Linked DNA regions of Homo sapiens: region 2 is linked to region 1. The links are contacts of gene promoters, found by promoter capture Hi-C in human tissues and cell types (Jung and others, 2019). All regions are on one chromosome and are shown on one strand. Each heading gives the region's core, a stretch centred on a gene start or on the middle of the fragment in contact. The rest is flanking DNA. Distances are from core to core; before and after follow the strand shown.

Region 1 (7,144 bases), core at 3,285-5,784:
TACCAATACAATAAATACAATGTTAATTTCAAACTGCAATTAATTATGCTGGAAGGATGTGGGAGTGTTAAGAGAGTTAAATTAAAATCTTCATAACAGGAAGTCAACAGATAATACCTACTGAATATTTCTACTTTTTGGAGGGATGTTGGGTTGGGGAACTACTGTTTCATTTCCTTAAAGTACTATTTGGCTTTTTAAATTGCCTGTACACATGCATATGCATACATAGTCTAAAGTTAAATTTTTAAAACCACATATAAAAGCCATGTGGGAAAAGAATTATTGTGAATGCTTAGTAAAAGAATGTATGCACAGCACATAATACAATGTTGATACATCATAGAGTATTAATAAAGTCCCCAAGATTTGCCTGCTTGGGATAGTCTTATTAACAAAAGTTAATCTTGTTAATAAAACAGTCAACAAATATATAAATCTTTACTCATCAGTCCCTAGTAAAATTTTCCAACTGTTGTGGAAGATATAAAGAAATATGAAACATAATCCTTACATTAAAATACCTTCTAATAAGTTATGGCAGTTAATATTTAATTGGTGTTATATGTACAGTAGGCACTGTCCCAAGTTCTTTACATATTATCTCTTTTAATTCTATGAGATAGACATTATTATCTCCATTTTATTATATAAATGAGGAAACTGAGGCACACTAAAATGAAGTAACTTGTCCAGGTCATGGAGCTCATAAGAGAGGGAGGTAGGATTCCAGTCCAAGCAGAAGGCGAGGGAGTCTCAGATTGCTTTATAATCTAATTGAGGGGAAGAAGAAACAGAGCTAAACAACCTTATATGATTTAAGGAGGAGTTCAACATAATACTGGAAGAGATGTCACAAACTAATGCAAGCATACTTTAGGGGAAATTGCTGTATTACACTAGGAGATCAGAAGAGAGTGCAAACCCTTCAGACTGATAGCCAAGGAAGCATTTAATTGGACCAGCTGGCTGGGGAGGGCATTCCTTGTAAGTGAATCAACACGCAGAGGTGGTAACCATAGCATGCCAGGGATCAGCGAGGAAGGTAATTTGACTAGAGCATAGCACATTTTGTTCATCCACAAATAAAACCTGTGAGATCAAAGCAGGAAAGGCCTAATAACAAATTATAAATGGCCTTGAAAGCAGACTAAGAAGCTTGGACTTTATTTTGTGAAAACGGGAAGTGATTGCTGAGCATGTGCACTTAATCTGGACATTGTACATGTAATCAGCTGACAGGAAGAGAACAAGTAACGGCTTATTGTGGCAGTCTGGATAAGATTTATCAAAATCTCAAACTAGCCTGGGGTAAGTGAGAGTGGAATTGGCTGGATCCTGGATGAGAAGTCCCACAAGGACTTACAGAAACAATTTGCATTTTATCTTTCTACCAAGGAGAAAAGTTTTTCAAACTACAAAGGCTAGATATAATTAAAAGGGAATTAAATTTCAAAAAGTTCAAGTAAGAGTATCTGCTTTGAAAAAATGAGTTTCTAGGTTTCAATAAGTTACAACATAGCATAATCAAATACTTAACTATTATGATTATGAATTGGCTGGCAGGATTTCTTTTAAAATGAAAGTAAAGCTTTCTAGATGTAACAATAAAGCATGCTCAATATGGAAAAAATATACAAAGAAAAAAATCAGCAAACTTATTCACATACCCTTAGTTTGGTTATTTTTTTTCAGTCTTTTCTATGAATAACTTTGTTTCCATGTTAATACAAAGTTACAATTGATTATCATATTATATATAGAAGATATAATTTTCTTCTTGCTTAAACATTTTAATAAAACATTTTTCAGTCTTTTCTTTGAATAACTTTGTTTCCATGTTAATACACAGTTACAATTGAATTTTCTTCTTGCTTAAACTTTTTTTTTTTTTTTTTTTGAGATGGGGTCTCACTCTATCGCCCAGGCTGGAGTGCAGTGGCCCGATCTTGGCTCACTGAAAACTCCGCCTCGCAGGTTCATGCTATTCTCCTGCCTCAGCCTCCTGAGTAGCTGGGACTACAGGCACCCGCCACAACACCCAGCTAATTTTTTTGTATTTTTAGTAGACACGGGGTTTCACCGTGTTATCCAGGATGGTCTCGATCTCCTGACCTTGTGATCTGCCCACCTCGGCCTCCCAAAGTGCTGGGATTACAGGCGTGGGCCACCACACCTGGCCTTGCTTAAACATTTTAATAAAACATTTCATATTCCATTACAAATTTATTTGTATACATAACTAATAATTGCATAATACTTAATAATGTGTATATATGTACTAAAAGGTTTTTAACCATTCCTGTGTAGTTGGATATTTAAGCACATTCTAAATCTCTGTTTATATAAGCCTAATATCTCTTTGCTCAAAATCAATTTTCTGTATTGTGGATTACCTCCTCAGGCCGGTTTTCCAGCTAAAAATCTTAAGAAAAACAATGGAGAATGAAAGAAGTAAACAGTTTAAACATAACTTCTATTTAAGAGGGCATGAAATGGTTAAATTGCAAAACCTTAGTGAGTCACCAGAGTGATTATTTTTAACCACACTGTCCCTGAAGGACAACTGATAATGATATATGGGAAGTAACTATAGTGCAGAAAATATCTAAGCAGGCATAACAAGTGTTTAGTAATTAACATCAGAATGACATTATAGTTTTTATTAATTTTCCAGCCAGAGTCTCACTCTGTCACCCAGGCTGGAGTGCAGTGGTGTAATCTCGACTCACGGAAACCTCTGCCTCCCAGGTTCAAGCGATTCTCCTGCCTCAGCCTCCTGAGTAGCTGGGACTACAGGCGCCCGCTACCATGCCCAGCTAATTTTTGTATTTTTAGTAGAGACGGGGTTTTACCATATTGGCCAGGCTGGTCTCGAACTCCTGACCTCATGATCTGCCCTCCTCAGCCTCCCAAAGTGCTGGGATTACAGGCATGAGCCATCGCACCTGGCCGCAGAATGACATTATCGTTACATCTACACTTGAATGTATTTTATATTGCATTTAAATTTATTTACATGTATTTTAACTTAACTGGTAAAATTCTGAAGCATGGGTATAATTATTCTCTTAATGCACCTTATTCTTTTAAATTTCTGAATTAATGGAATCTGTAGACATTATTACAAAGATATATCTGAGCCAGTTATATTACTGAAATCACCTTTGCAAAAATTATGACAGTGAGAAAAATATGACATAGGAAAATTATGACAGTAAAGGAAATCTGACCTAACCAACTCCATCTTGGTTCTAACCTCCAAGCTGTCCTTGTTCATTCCCGGGTACAGGCTGAACTAACTTTGAGAGGAATTTAGCTCATGGTTTAACTTTGAAACAAAGATGATAACAGCCTTCCCCAAAACAAATCCCCTCCTTGTTTGGGGACCAGATTGCCTTTGTAAAACTAACAAAATTACCCACAAGATTAGGAATTATGGAGTCATGCAACCAGAGATCACAAGATTCCTAAGCTCAATTGCTCTGATAGATAACATTACTGTTGTAAAACCTAAGATTGGTGTTCGAAGCATTTTTCAGACCCTGCATTCTGATAGACCAGCTGGTGCCACCCAGACTGGTAAACTGGCTCATCTGGTTTTGTGGCCCCCACCCAGGAACTGACTTAATGCAAGAGGACAGCTTGGACTCCCTGTGATTCCATCCCTGACCCAATTTATCACCATTCCCCATTCCCTAGCTCCCTACCCGCCAAACTGTCTTACAAAAATCCTAGCCTCTGACTTTTTGGGGAGGCTGATTTGAGTAACAATAAAACTCCAGTCTCCAATTTAGCCAGCTCTACATGTATTAAACTTTGTCTACTGTAATTCCCATCTGGATAAATCAGTTCCATCTGGACAGTGGGCAAGAAGAATCTGTTGGGCAATTACATTACCCACTGACAAAGTAAAAATCCGGTGCTTGGAGTGAGCAGACCAAATACACAACACCCTTTAAAATATGGTGCTTGCAGGGATCTGCTTTTTATTTTGTAGTTTATTGTGAAGTGTGGGTGGTGTGATGGGCCAAGCACAAAACCTGCAGTTGATGATGTGGGTTCATGCTTTACCCTGATTATTATTAGGTGTATGACTTTGGACTTGTTAGAGAATCACTGAAATTCATTTAGAGGTTAATAATAACACCTATCTCACAGAGTGGATCTGAGAATTAAGTGAGATATTAGTGAAAAACTCCCCAGAGATGATAAGTCCTACATTCATCTAAATTGTTGCTGTCATTATTTCTGTCTGCCACATTATCCTGGCACAAGATTTAGTGGGGATTCATTGAGCAGGTGAGAGGTGATGTGGAAAAGATCCATAAAATTACCTCATTAGCTCTGAGAACCTATCACTAGCTCTTCAGATGGAGCAGTGAGAACAGGCTGGGATCAAACAGTATGGAGAAAAGAATCTCCTTGGTTCTCCTTTCATGGGAAATTGCATCAGAAGTTCCTGTGGATGGCTTGTTAATTGGTGAGCATTCTGATTCAACACTGTGTCTCTCAGAATATAGTAAACAACCAAGGTTACACTATCCACATCAAATGATTAATGCAATATGCTTATAATTGTTTTGTGATTTTGCCAATTTTCTCATATATATAACAACTCAGTGTTTTGCAAGTCAGCAAAGCCCATTGATATTGTTCTTTATGGGCTCAAATTATTTCACATCCATGGTTAACACTACTTCAAACTGATTGACAAAATTAGGGGGCAAAACGAGAAAAGGTGTATTTGGTTGTGCTATTCTTGACACATAACCCAGTTGATTCACTGTTGCCAAAGCCCACCAACTCCACATCTGAGACCTTTGATTCCATTTTATGATTTTTAATCAACTTCATTGAGGTATAATTTACATAAAACAAATGGAAACATTCAAATTATCCAGTTTCACGAGTCTTGACAAATGTATACACCATGTAACCACTACCCCAATAAATATATAGAACATTTTCCCCCAAAAGTTCCCTTTTGCCATTTTGCAGTAAATTCTCCTACCCTCTTGCACTCCCCACTCCCGATAGTCATTACTTTGATTTCTATCATCATAAGTTGATTTTGCTTGTTCTGGAACTTCATATAAATGAAATCATATAATATCCACTCTATGTGCCTAGTTTCCTCTGCTCAGCAAGTTTTTGAAATTCATCCCTATTGTGTGTATCATTAATTTGTTCCTTTTTAATGTGAAGTAGTATTCATTGTATGGAAGTGCCACAATTTGTTTAACCATTCAGCTACTTATGAATTGTTTCCAGCTTGTAGCTGTTATAAATAAAGCTTCTATAAACATTTATGTACAAATCTTTGTAGACATTTTTATTTTTCCTGGGTCCATACTTGGAAATATAAGGTCATATGGTAAGTCTCTGTTATGTAAGAAGTTTCTAAATTGGTTCTTTTCCATGCAAACCTGACACACACACAAACAAACCCTGACATAATTATTATAGACCTTTGGGCTAATGGACTAAATGACATCAAAATGAGGCCACATGGTCTGGAAACATGAGGGGGAAAGGATGTCACAGAAGTAGTAGAGGAGGTGGTATCAGATGGGGGACTTGAGAAAACAGAAGTGTTTTCAACAAAACCTGCAATTATTGTTTGTCTGAAGTAAATTACCTTCTTCATAGCAGAACATTTGGCTATATGAGAAAGTACTATTTATCCTAGAGAAATGATCATCATATAGGTAAATGGATTTTATTTGACATCTGAAAGAACAGTGCTAGGAAAATACTCACCGATGAACACTTTGAGAAAGATCGAGGAACGCTTTAGTCTTCATTATGCACCAACAAATAAAAGGTAACACGTAGAGTGGACGGAGCATAATTTTAAATCTCCCCAGAACTGGGTTCAAATTTTGCTTGGCTTTGCCATCTGTATTGTTTTATCCAATCATTTCCCCCTCTGAACCTGTCCCAACATGTGCAATTGTAAGTAATAATAGTTTACTCATGGCACTGCTGGATGGTTAACCAAGGTTAAGTCTCAAAGTGAGAGTATCAATGGAAGGTGATCCCTTCAATGTAAATTTCTTCTTTCTTCCCTCCTTACCCTTGTGCAATTCTAGTAAGCTTAAATTGTAAATCTGCTTAACTTGCAAGCTGTTAAATCAAGGGAAACAAACTGCAGATGGGACTACATTGGAGGTAAAGAATCCAATGTTTATACAATTCTGAATCTTGGTAAATGACCTAATCTTTGCTAAAGGAAAAATACTACTGAGTGGGGAAAGAATAAGGAAAACAACTAAATGATCTCCACATTGCTAATACATGAGAATTTCATATTGCTTTTACAGAATTTTAAAACTGTATGTCATGACATGGCTGTATTTATAGATTTCATGAAAAGTGGCCAAGTCTTGTTATAGGAAACATTCATTCATGTCATCACCCATGATCATTCATTATTGTTAATATTTATAGAGTACTGTGTGCCAAGCAATGGGCCAAATGCTTTACATACATTATTTCCTTTATTCCTCACAAAACCTCTATGAGGTAATATCATTACACCTGTTTTATAAGTGGGAAATTTGTGTTTCAGAGCGGTTGGGTGCTGGACCACACTCTCACATGCACACACACTCTCACATGCTCACATTCATACACGCACATACACTCTCACATGCTCATACACATTCATATACATGCACACACATGCTCACACAGGCTTTCATACACACACTCACATGCTCACACACATTCATACATGCACACACATGCACACTCATTCATACATGCACACACATGCTCAGACTTTCATACACACACACATGCACACACACATTCATACATGCACGCACACTCTCACATGCTCACACACATTCATACATGCACACACTCATGCTCACACATATACATGCACACACTCACATGCTCACATTCATACATGCACACACACTCTCACATGCTCACATTCATACATGCACATACTCTCATGCTCACACACATTCATATATGCACACTCACATGCTCACACACATTCATATATGCACACTCACATGCTCACACACGTTCATACATGCACACACACGCTTACACACTCATACATGCATACACTCTCACATGCAAACATATTCTCACATTCTTGCACACACATACTAAAATGAACAAA
Region 2 (7,144 bases), core at 3,295-5,794, 140 kb after region 1:
TCCCCATTTTCTCATGAGATTTGTGTATTTATTCATTCAAAAAATTTCTATGAAGTGTCTACCATGGATCAGGCAATATTCATGGAACTAGGGGGCTCGAACATAGAGAAACAGACAGACAAAAAAACAAAATATTTCCTTCATGGATCTTACATTGTAAGAGAGACAAACACAAATGAGGTCATTGTAAAATATATAATGTGTTCAATGGAGCTAAGTAGTAAGAGAAGAAAAATAGACCAAAGAAGGGGATATGAATGGAAAGGGAGGTAAAAGTGTAAGAGGATATCTAGGAAAGATCTCACTGAGAAGGTATCTTCGAGTAAAGACTAGAATGAAATGAGGGAGCTGGCCACTGGGGCTATTCAGGAGAAAAACAATCTGGACAGAGCAAACAAGACCCTCCGAGGGCAAAGGACCCCAGTCAGAGTGCAAAGAATACTAGAGCAGCAAAGGCCATTGTGGCCAGAGGGAGAAAAGAAGGAGAAAAGGGTCAAAGATGAACTCAGAGAAGTTAAAGGAAAGCAGATCACATTGGACTGAATGGATCATAGTTATGACATTGCCTTCTACTTTGAATGAGATAGGAAATTATTGGAGGGTTTGGAGCAGAAGGCAGTGATTTCTTTTTTCCTGACAAACATGTAAACAGGATCACTGCAAGATACTAGACACCAACACACTCATCTACAGAGGAGTTGAGTTTTTGTGTTGCTGAGAAGTGTTTATTAATAAAAATATATTTGGGAAATTTATGAGGGCAGACAAGAATAAGCATGAAAAGAATCATGAATCTAACTGTAAAATAAATGAAACAATACACGTGCAAGAAGAAAACATGGATGAATTATTGTGTAACCTGGAGAATGGTTTTTAAAACCATGGCTCCTAATCCAGATGCAATAAAAGAAAAGATTTATCAACTTGACTGCATTAAAACAGACAATGCTTACAAGGCAAAACGATGCCATAAACAAAGTCAAAAGACAACTGACAAACTGGGAGGAAACATTTGCAAAACACATCCAGAATAACAATCCTAATATATATAAATAAGTCTCAAACATTGAGAGAGGAAAAGGCAAATATACATGATAAAAATATATTTTATAAATGTTCAGCGTTACTCATAGGGAATGCAAATTAAAGCTACACTGAGATAAAATGTCTCATTTATTAGACTGACTAAAATTTAAAACCATGATGACAGCACATTAGATTAATGAGGTGCTCTCACACAGTTTTGTAGGAATATATGTGGTACAACTCTTATTAAGGAAATTTGGCAATATCTAACAAACCTACATATGTGTTTACCATTTGACCCAGCAATCCCACTTCTAGGAATTTGAACTGAAGACATGCTTCTAACAGCAGAAAAATAAATATTCACAAAGTTACTCTTTAGAGCATTAAAAACAACCAAACTGTCCATACATAGGGAGATGGTTGAATAAACTATGGCATATCCACACAGTGAAGTATTGCATGCAACTGTAAAAATGAATGAGGAATATTTGAATTTGTAGGAAATAGTGGATTCCAGCATATTTGTTAAGTTAAAAAAGAAATGTGCAAAAGAATACCTATAGCATGCTTTTAAAATGTAATAAAAAAGGAGAACTAAGAAGACAAATGTGTAGCAGCTCATTTGAGCAAAACTAAGGACAAACCAGAAACTACTGAAATTGAGTACCTATGGTGGAGAGGATAGAGGTGATGGAGAGAAGTGACATTTCCCTTTTATTGTGTCTTTTTATATCAATCTGACATTTGGGACTACGTTAATGTTTTATTTAAGCAAAAAAAAATCAAAAAGATTGAGGGGAAACTAAAATAGAATACAAAGAGAAACAAATTAACAGTATTTTGAATGAATAACAATCACACTGAAGAGGGGGAATAATCTGAGTAACTTTGGAACACAACAATGCTGTTTTTATATTTTCGGGCTATAAACAAAATAAAACTTTAAAAACGAGTAGATTTGATTTCCATCATAGTATAGAAATAGCAATTTTAAACTTCTTTCTGTGTATTCTAGGATTAAGCAAATAAGTAAATATATTGTGGATCTAGGTGTCTCACTGTTGAAGAAGGGAGTTACACATGCAGAAAGAGGGAAGGACAGAATGAACTCTATGCTAACGGACTGAAATTGGAAGAATCACTGTGAATTCATGACATATATAAATATAGATATGGGAATGGATATACATATATATATATAATACATATCCTTGCTCTGTCTGCTGAGAGGGTGCGGAAACAATGATACTCCAATAAAAATGAACACACTTAGCATCCAATTCTGGCATCTAAATGCCATTCTCTGCCAGAAAGAACCAGCATTCCTTGGAGAAACAGCAAATTCCAGTGTCAGGTCTAGAGGTGAGTCTGGAGCATTTTTTTTTGTGTGTGTGCCAGAAAGTAAGGAAGTGCTCAAAGAACAATAAGAACAAGTCAAAATGACATAGGAACTATTTTGAGGGCTCCCACTGGCCCGATCAGGGAGAATTTAAGCATCAAAATAAATAATGGTAGCCATGAATTATGACCCATTGAGTAAATAAATAAAATTCATATTGATATAGTTTATGCTGATATAGATAAATGAATAAATAAATAGAGAAGGGAAAACTTTTATTTACAGTAAAATGCCAACAGATGAATATAGAAGTAATTATTAAATTAGGAAAAAACACCCTTTGACAACCATCATAGTAAAAATTGATTCAAGAAAGGATCATCAATAGACGCTAAAATTTGTGGGTAAAAATTTGATGAAAAAATGAGGAATTTACATAGTTTTAAAGTATCTCCCTATAAAATACTTATTAATTACAAAGGGAAAAATACTGAGTCTACACTAAGAAACATGGCAGGCACCATCTTAACTAAGTGATCAAAGTTACCACCACCAGTAATAGGACAAATAGACAACATATGCCTCCCCGTAAGGATAAGACATCCTTTCTGGTATTCCTGTCAAATAATTAGATTCAATAACCTGAATCTATCATGAAGAAATGATAGACAAATCCAAATTGTGGGGTGTGATCCTGTCTCCTGACATTACCATCCACGTATACTGCCCTCCTACACTGAAAAGGGCTGATCTGTACAATCAATTGGATATTCTGGAGTTAACATATTGTGATTTCTGAGGACAGGTCACAAAGGACATTATGGCTTCTTCTTTCTTGTTCTCAGAGACGCTAGCTGGCATGTCACGAGGACACTCAACACACAAGCAGCGAGCCCTATGGCAAAATCCACGTGGTGAAGAATGAAGCTTCCAGCCAAAGGCTGGTAAGTGAGCCATCTTAGATGTGGATTCGCCTATCCCAGTTAACCCTTCAGATGACTGCACCTCCAGCTGGTGTCTTAACTGCAATCTCCTGAGCGATCCCAAGCCAGAACCACCTGACCGACCCACAGAAACTGTGAGATCATAAATGTTTATTCTTGCTTTACACCACTACCTTCAGGGTAATTTGTTATTATAATAGATAACGGACTTAAAAGTCATTCTCCAAAAATAATTGTGGTGTATTCGTCAAAAATGTAAAGGTCATGCAATACCAAAAATGCTGAGGACATTTTTCCAGAATAAAGAACTGGGGGTGGGGGGAAGGCATAATGATCAAACACAATACATGATCCTGAAATGATTCTGGACCAGGAAAAACAAAGGTTGGTTTCTATTGTTGTTATTGTTTTTACCATAACACAGGTTATTGAGATGATTGTCAAAATTTAAATACAGATGGTAGCTTATAGTCTTGTGTCAATGTTAAGTTCTTATTTTTGATCATTGCACTCTAGTTATGGAACAGAAAGTCCTTAGTGAACCATTTAGAATAGGAATAAATGCTAGATGGTTCCAAAGTAATAATTATATAATTATAATTATATAATCACATATATGTACATATATGTCTATAGAGAAAGAATAGAGAATGGTAAAGAAAATACAGCAAAATGTTAACATGCAGAGAATCTGGGTGACAAGTATATGGGAATTCTCTGCAGTACTCTTGAAACTTTTCTGTAGAGATTACTTCAAAATAAAGAACAGAGCAGAAGTGGCTGCTGTTCCTAAATTCCCTAAGTAAACTTACACTGCTTTTTCAAACTGGGAGATGAATCCACTAATAGGTTTTGAAATGAGTTTGGTGGATTTCTAATAAGAATAGGATAGCCTAGCCTAGTCTAGCATAACACAGCATGGCACAGAGGACGAACATTGTAGATTACTAAGGGTGAGTACTAACTTGTGAAAGTTTTGTTTAAGTTCTAGTAAGAGAAACAAGTGAGTGTAGTGGGTTGCGTGGTCAAAAAAGTGGGGAAGCCACCGCAACGAGGGGTGAGTCTGAGCCAAAGAGTGGCTCAGAGCTCCCCGCCCACCTCGTGCCGGGCCGTCCCTCCCGCTTGTCCCACCCTCACCGGCGCCGCGTCAGCCCCCAGGCCGCCTGCAGGTGTGCGCTCAGAACTAGCACGTGTGCCGGACACTATTTAAGGGCCCGCCTCTCCTGGCTCACAGCTGCTTGCTGCTCCAGCCTTGCCCTCCCAGAGCTGCCGGACGCTCGCGGGTCTCGGAACGCATCCCGCCGCGGGGGCTTCGGCCGTGGCATGGGCGCCGCGGGCCTGCTCGGGGTTTTCTTGGCTCTCGTCGCACCGGGGGTCCTCGGTGAGCTGGGAGGGGGAGCACGGAGGTGGGGACGCGTCCCGGGCAGGGAAAGTTTCTGTGCCGCGATGCAAAGCAGGGGGCCAAAAGCGAGACGGTGGGGGCAGTGCTCGACGCGTGTCCGCCTCCCGCTAGCTTTGAGGGACCACTGCAATAAACCGCCTGGTCCTGATTGTCCCCACTGGCCCCTCCGGGAGCTGGGACCTCCAGAATTGGAGGCTGCGCCACAGAGGGGCGCTGTCTGGTCGGCCCGGTGTGGCTGGCGGCGTGCGGGTGCTCGCGGTCTCCTGCCGGGCTCCCCGCCCCCAGGATTCTGCAGGTGCTCATCGCTCTCTGGCCGGCGGTCAGCGCTACCGCTCGCCACGGGAAACCTACCCACTGCATGAGGCACCAGCTAGCCACGTGAGGCTGTTTCTGTACACCCGAACCGCGCTCTTGCCCAGCAAAAGCGGCAGAACCTCGGCTCCCTTCCCTAAATAAGAGTAAGACCTGGTTCCCAAGCATGGGTCTCAGATTTTCTGAACTCTAATGTGATATTGGTAGAGATCCTAAACATTAACCATCCGTAGTTATTTTTGAGACATGGATTAAAACTATTGTTTTCTTCTTGTTATTAACCTACTGTAATGGTGTGGACGTCCGCAAAGGTCTCATTCACCGTTTATTATATCTTTTTTTCCTCCAGATTGGCTTGATTTTAAAGAAAGATTATAATTAAGATTAGCGTCTCTTGGCTACAGGATGGGTCTAAGTTTCTAATTATCTCCACGGTACCGTGCATTCCTAGTTTATAAGACGTTTACTGTGTGCAGACCTCAATAACTGGGTGACTTTTGGCAAGTCATTTAGCTCCCTGATCTTCAGTTTCTTCATCTGTAAAATGAAACTAGTGATTAACTGGCCTTCCACCTCACTGAGCTGCCCTGAGCACAGATGAAACTAAGCAAAGAAAGTTGGATGTTAGTCGTTACTACTAAATATCAGTAATAAGCCTCCTGTACAGACTTGATTTTATGGAGCCAGCATTTAAGCTAACAAGCTGGGTGTCCAATTGTTTCTATGGACATCCAGCTTATTGAGGTGTCTGGAATACAGCACATATTAGTTTATTACAACTTTTTGCTTTCCTGACATTTTACTGTCTCCTGACCCTTAAACCTTTCTCCAGACCATTATCTTCATCTCTTTTCTTTTTCTGCATATTAACTCCCTTTGAACAAATGTATATTCACACTTTTTCTAAGAGCAGAGTACGTCCCTGACTTCTCACCTATTTCTAAATTTCAAAGAGGATATTATCAACTGAAAATCAAATTCTTCACCAGTCCTGCCAATTCAGGGCCACAGCAGCAGCATCATGTAGGTCACTTAACTGGAGCCCCATGAAATACCAGGTCTACCTATCAGCCATTCAAGCTACTGTGCTTCTGTTGTTTGTCCATTTCTCATTTTTGTACCAGTATTCCCATCCTAAGCATTATAATTACCTGTGTAACAACCTCATCTCTTTTAAGAGATTTTGGTTCTTATGATTGGAAAGGTTAAAGAGTGACCTATAGGTCACTTTCCAATTATGAAAACAAAAAATTAAGAAATATATATATTTTCATTATTTCACTCCATTGTTCAAAAATCTAAAAGGCCTCCAGTGGAAGAAAATCTGGTGTCTTCAGCCTTTCTAGCCCTTTGGAATGGGATCTCACCGAAGCTCACACCCCCTGATTTCTCCAGCTGCCTGTCTTGTATGCGCTGCTCATGGTCTTCCCCACCTGTCTCCCATGGCTCATGCTTTGCCCACTCTCCACTGCTAACTTTTACTGCTACTGCATGCTCTCCACACATCATCTCTTGGCCAGTTCCTGCACTTGAGTGTGCTTAATAAAATACTAAAGTACCTTTATAAAATGTAGGTTCCTGGTTCCACCTCCCCCTCCAGAGGTTCATAGGTTTGGAGTTAGCACAGGAAAGCTGAGGTTTAACAATCACTCTAGAAGATTCTGCAACAAGTATCTATAGGGCACACTGCTATAAGCAAAGTCAATGGAAGCAAATTTCCTTTTTAGTGTTTTCCTATTTTTCCTTTTGTCTATTTGCATAAACAGTTTCAAATTTCCTACACTTCTAGATTTTACTCAAGCCTTCAGTGGCCACCTAACTTTATCCTATGCTGAGAAAACAAAACCATGAAACAAGAATGCTCCCATTTTCTAATCGGCTACAAACCTACCAACTTACAAACTTACCTCCATCTAGAATCAGATTTTGTTCTCCACTGCAGAAAACCTGCTGAGGCCTTCCCGTCACATTAGAATAAAACCCATACCCCTTATTCTCCAGTCTGAGGCCTTCTGCCTCTCCCTGAAATTCTCTGTACCCCACTCACTCTCTCTGCCCCAGCCACACTGGCCTTCTCTTTATTCTTTGAGCACAATTGCACTAGGTATTCTCTCTTTT

The links. Contacts are between HindIII fragments. The study calls those that stand out against the background at their distance.
Region 2: the fragment with the promoter of CR2 here is called in contact with a fragment that was not itself captured in region 1 in 1 of the 25 tissues and cell types used here (H1 embryonic stem cells).

Annotation. Positions count from the first base shown.
Region 1 is chr1:207,308,866-207,316,009 of GRCh38, forward strand. LINC02942 (long intergenic non-protein coding RNA 2942) reads left to right here. Exons shown (of 4, transcript NR_186170.1): 4 at 1-5,316. The region is part of intron 1 of LOC107985251 (a long non-coding RNA gene); the gene reads right to left. Among named protein-coding and RNA genes, the nearest start is that of CD55, 9.2 kb to the right of the region's middle. The HindIII fragment of the contact is 6,321 bases long and covers 1,375-7,144 here.
Region 2 is chr1:207,449,784-207,456,927 of GRCh38, forward strand. CR2 (complement C3d receptor 2) reads left to right here and starts at 4,545. Exons shown (of 20, transcript NM_001006658.3): 1 at 4,545-4,693. The coding sequence starts at 4,636. RefSeq lists silencers at 4,384-4,613, 4,994-5,103. The HindIII fragment of the contact is 10,162 bases long and covers 1,538-7,144 here.